2 separate regions of the Homo sapiens genome follow, and region 2 is linked to region 1. The links are contacts of gene promoters, found by promoter capture Hi-C in human tissues and cell types (Jung and others, 2019). All regions are on one chromosome and are shown on one strand. Each heading gives the region's core, a stretch centred on a gene start or on the middle of the fragment in contact. The rest is flanking DNA. Distances are from core to core; before and after follow the strand shown. Region 1 holds the start of DNASE2B (deoxyribonuclease 2 beta). Region 2 has its middle 48 kb from the start of PRKACB.

Region 1 (2,700 bases), core at 166-2,665:
TCCAGCCCTCATAGTACTGCCAATGGGTTTCCTAAAGTGCAAATCTGACCATTCACACCCCTGCGTGAAGTCCTCCAATAGCTCCCTTTCAATGTCAAGTTCAAACCTTGTAGCTCAGCACACAGACCCCTTGGCTGTCCCCACCTCTCTAACCTCACCTCCGGTCATCTTCCTGTATTCTCCTGAAGTTCCAGCAATACCAAACTACTTTGCAACTCCCAAATTTCCATGTTGCTTCTTGCCTCTCTACCTCCTCATTGCTCCTTCATTGGCCTGAGATGCTCTTGCACATCCCTTCTTTTTCCAGCTACTTCTTAATTGTTCTTAAAACTTAGCTCAAAAATTACATCCTTAGAGAAGTTTTCTGGGCTCTCTGTTCCCCAGTGTTCCACCTATGCCCTTACCACATAACTGTGAGGTCCTTGAGGGTAGGAACCATGTTTCGTTCATATTTATATTTTCAAAACTCCACACAGACCTCTGTTGAGCTCAGTAACTGAGGAAAGACTGACTACTGCCTTGAGTATATCTGTGTTCTGTAGCCTGAAGTTTACACAAAAAGCTTGACACCAACCATTATGGCAAACCTAAATATCCCAATTAAAGGGTGAAAAAGTAGTTAAAGCTTTAGGAGAACCCATGACTATAATGCAACACAGCATTTAATGTCTTTGACACTGTACAACAGGCCAGTGGCCTACGTACCAATCATGGCAACAGCTGCCTCTGCTTCCAAACAAACCGATGTTAGGCAAACAGTGCTGTGTGTGACCAGGTCCCCCTTCTCTTTCTCATAAGGAGCAGCACATGCTCCATTTTCAGAAAAAAATAATCTGCCTTCTTTACTCTGTCAGTCTTTCAAAGGATGTTGGAAGTGTTCTGTTAGGAAAAGCCATGATGTAATTAAAAGAAATTGCCAGCTCACAGAAGCTGTCAGCTCAATCCCACTTCTGTGGCTACCAGCCTTGCCCCGCTGAGAACAGTGAATCAGGCCCAAGAGGGGCTGCTCAGCTCTTTTTCAGGGGGAAACTCCGTCACTCAGAAGCCTACCCCTGCCTGGGAGTTTGGCCGATTTGCACACTTTAACTTCCTTTATTTGTAAAGGGAGGAAAGAGAATGGACATTCCCCTTAGGAACTTCGCAGTGAGCCAGGCCAACTCTGTACCGAGGCTGTTTGCATGCAGCAGTCCTTCCATTTCATTTACCTACCAGTCCACAGCTTTCCCTTCTTCATTTCTGCATGAAATTGTTGCTGCCCCCAGCACCCCAAAGAGGCCAAGGAAGAGCAAAGCAAAGGATGTTCTTAGCAGTCTTGCCATCATTTTCTGTTTCATTTATTTCATGCCACAGCAGGACACTTTCCCCATAGATTGTGGAGTCTGAGTTTCAAGGCGCTCTCAGGCTGTGCTGGCTCTGACGTTTGATTTGATTTACCTGTGCTGTTCGCTGTTCGGGGCATTTTCAGAGTGGGATGGATCCCATGTAATTGTGCGATTCTGTCACAACATGCCAGCGTGACTCTGGATGCCTTTGTGCTGAATTGTTGACTGGTTTGCAAAGTCATCAAAAAGTTCTGCAGAAAAATAGGGAAAGATAGTTCACTCTTTGGAGTGAACATTGTTGTATGAAATTCATTGGGCAGGGGGACTTCATTTTAATAAGTAGATGTTAAATATATTTCATGTCTTCTCCTGTTTGACTCAATGAATGAGAGCAAATGCAGGTGGTTCGTACATTAAACAGAAATGATAAAACCTTATGTCTTAGTAATAATTAGGATCTGTCACTTAATAATCTCTGTCTTAAGGAACCAGTTGCTAAGGGATACTTCAAAGGGTTGCTTCAAAGTAACAGTAAATTTAACTGTATTTTACCAAAGATGTTTACATATTCTCTCCATCTTCCTGGTTTTAGCCACTCAATGTGGTGCTTCAGGCTGCTATGCAATAGGTAAACATATTGATCACCCACTCTTCAGGTTAATAAAAAATGTTACAAACATCTATTTTGCCCAAACTATGCTTTCTCATTCTCGAAGCTGAATCTGAAGTAGAAAACCAAAATAAAATGGCCCACTACCATAACAACTATAAAAAGGTGAGACCAATTTCTTTGTGAATCAGGGAAGGAGTAGATAGACATATGAAAATAATTTCTTTAATGCATACTTTTGCATCAATTATTAAAGCTGCCATCATAATAAATAGCAGTTTACATCATGCCTGGAAATAATGCTGCCCCTAATCTGTCTCTCTGATAATCACAATGATAACTATAATAGTTCCAGATCAGAGGATCCAGACCAAACTGAACCCTTGTAAATCAGATTACCTCTGTGGTTGCACTAGAACTGTTCACAATTCTCAGGATTCATAGAAAAGGGGAAGGCTTGTGTCTCTATCCTAAGACAGAGTTTTGGGAGGAGGACTCTGTACCACCTGCCCAATTACCTGTGGTGCCTGCAAAAAAGGCAGAATTCTAGGACTTATTCCAAACCTGCTACATCAGAATTCTTCCAGTTGGGCTCAAGAATCTATATTTTTAATAAGCTTATTGGTGATGCTGGTGTACCCTAAAGTTTGAAACTCACTGCCCTGAGGCCAAGACTATGCTGTATTTGGTAGATTCACAGCTTTCTGCAGGTTAAATGAAGAAATATTTTTCTTACCCATTCCTCCATTGGTATTATTATTATTATTA
Region 2 (2,700 bases), core at 161-2,660, 300 kb after region 1:
TGGAATATCTACCTTCTCCTGCTATTGGACGTCAGTGCTCCTGGTTCTTTGGTCTTCAGACTCAGCCCAGGACTTAAACCATTTTCTCTCCCCTTTCCTCAGGTCTTTGGACTTAGACTAAGTTACAGCACCAGGTTTCCTGGTTCCCCAACTTGATTATATGACTTATCAGCCTCCATAATCATGAGTCAATTTCCATAATAAGTATATATGTATGTAAGAGGAGATTTATTATAGAAATAATCTTTCTCCCCACACACACCCCTCCTATTGGTTCTGTTTCTCTGGAGAACCCTTATTAATACACACACCAAAATGGCTAAAACAAAACAATACCTGTCAATACCAAGGATGGTGAAGATGTGGGGCAATGGAAACTCTCCTACACTGCTACTGTGAGTGCAAATTGGTATAACCTCTTTCGAAAACAGTTTGATAGTATCTACTAATGTAGATACTATCTACTAATGTATCTACAGATACATATACTTTATGACAGTATTCCATTTATAGGTATATACCTAACAGAAATGAGTATAGGTGTGTATGAAAATGCACAAAAATGGTCAACAATGTTCACAGAAGTTCTAGTCATAATAGTCCCAAACTGGAAAACAACCCAATTACCATCAAATGTAGAAAGAAAAAATAAATTGTGTATTCACACCATGGAACACTATACATTAACAAAAAGTAAAGAACCCTACCTTCAGCAACAGGACTAAATTTTGCAAACAATGTTGAAATTAAAATCCCAGATATAAAACAGTATAATTGTTATTCTACTTAAGTAAAGCTCAAAAACAGGCGAAACTAATATATGGTGACAGAAATAAGAATAGTGGTTACATCTGAGGGAAGCATGCTTATTGACTCTGGAGGGACAAGGGAACCTTCTAGAATGCTGTTAATTTGCATATATTGATCTAGTCACGATTATATGAGGAATTCATTTGTAAACCCTCTTCAATCTATAAGCTTAAAAATGTGCACACTTTATACTATGATTCATTGCACAGATTTACAAAAAGAAAAAATACTATCAAGGGATTTCTGCTTCAATAAAGTGATATATAAAAAAAACTCTTGTTAAAATAACATAAATATTGGTAGAAATGGGGTAAGAGTTGTTTGAAAGTATTAGCAAAGGAGTCAGCAGGTTTTGAGGAACACCAAGGTCCTGAAAAGATGGGAAATGATTAGAGATCAAGATTCTTTACAGCTTTTGCCCTCAGGGCATTTCCTCAATTGGTAGAAAGGACATGCAAAAAGCTAAGGCTCAAATATTCAACATTACACTTGGCTGACAAGGGAAAAAAATGGAATTCAGAGACTTTAGGGCCAAGAAACCAGAAATAAAAATCCCAACATTCTGTACTACTTTTTCTTCTTGAAGCATTCAGATGTTTAAGATACCTAAGGCATGACACTAAAGAACAGATAGTGAGAAGCACCTTTTTAGGAGATTAGAAAACTAAGCAAATATTTCAGTAATCTCACAGTGAGGAAAGAAAAATTGAAGTTCAGGGCTAGCATGAGGTAGGGCCCTGATAAACACCACCAGGCCTTCAGTCAAAACCACTGAAAGGCTCCATCGATAGGAGTAAGAATAGGAAATAGACCAAGCCTCACAAAGACTGAGAACAGCCAACAAGTCATCTTAATTGTTGATGGATCAACACAATCTGACCCAACTCTAACCATCAGCCAAAATAAGTCCTCTCTTAAGAAATATAACATGATACAAAATACATTCAATTAAAGATTCCTAGGCATGCCAAAAGATAAGACCAAATAACCAAAAATAAGAGAACAAACATACCATAGAAAAACACACTGGTAATAAAAATTGTAAATTCAGACATGAACTTTAATATAGCTATGATTAATTTGTACAAAAATATAAATGAGTAGAAAAATTTACAAGTAGAAACTCAAAAATCAACTGGAAAATCTAGAGATTAAAAATATAATAATTGAAATTATATATCAGAAATTTTACATATACATGTAATTGGTATCTCAGAAGAATAGGAAAGAAAAGACGGGATAGAGGCAACATATTAAGATATGCTTATTGAAAACTGTCTTAAATAAATGAAACATTTTGAGCCATGATTCTAAAAAGTTGCAAACAGAAAGTAGGGGGAATAAAATCACCTAGGCATATTGTGAAACTGCTGAAAACCAAAGGCAAAGAGAAAATCTCAAAGCAACCAAAGAAAAAAAAAGATATACTACCTTCATAAAGCAACACTGAGACTAACAGCTGATTTCTCAACAAAACAATGGAAAACAAAACATGATGAAACATCTTCAAAGTGTTCAAAGAAAGTAATTCTCAACCTAAAATTCCATACTTATAAAATATATCCTGAAAAAGTGAAGGTAAAAAATACACAAATCCAGATAAATAAAAACTGACATAATTCATCACTAGGACACCTTTACACAAGACTTATTTATGGCACAAGTAACTTAGACCAGAGAATGCATGAAGGAATAAGCGCAAAAAAAAAAAAAACAGCAAATATGGGATAAATATAAATATTGAGGGCCCTGAACAATAATAATAATGCATGATGGAGTGTTAAATACAGTCATGTGTCACTTAATGCCAGGGATACATTCTGAGAAATGTGTCATTAGGCAATCTCGTCACTGTACGAACATCATAGAGTGCACTTACATAAACCTAGA

The links. The method cuts DNA at HindIII sites, captures the fragments that hold promoters and counts their contacts. A contact is called where the count stands out against the background at its distance.
Region 2: a contact is called between a fragment that was not itself captured here and the fragment with the promoter of DNASE2B in region 1, in 2 of the 25 tissues and cell types used here (hippocampus and lymphoblastoid cells).

What each region holds. Positions count from the first base shown.
Region 1 is chr1:84,397,199-84,399,898 of GRCh38, reverse strand. It overlaps DNASE2B (deoxyribonuclease 2 beta), which reads right to left and starts at 1,415. Exons shown (of 6, transcript NM_021233.3): 1 at 1,210-1,415. The coding sequence starts at 1,334. The HindIII fragment of the contact is 7,255 bases long and covers 1-2,700 here.
Region 2 is chr1:84,095,072-84,097,771 of GRCh38, reverse strand. It overlaps a transcript of PRKACB not described here. Among named protein-coding and RNA genes, the nearest start is that of PRKACB, 48 kb to the left of the region's middle. The HindIII fragment of the contact is 5,327 bases long and covers 1-2,700 here.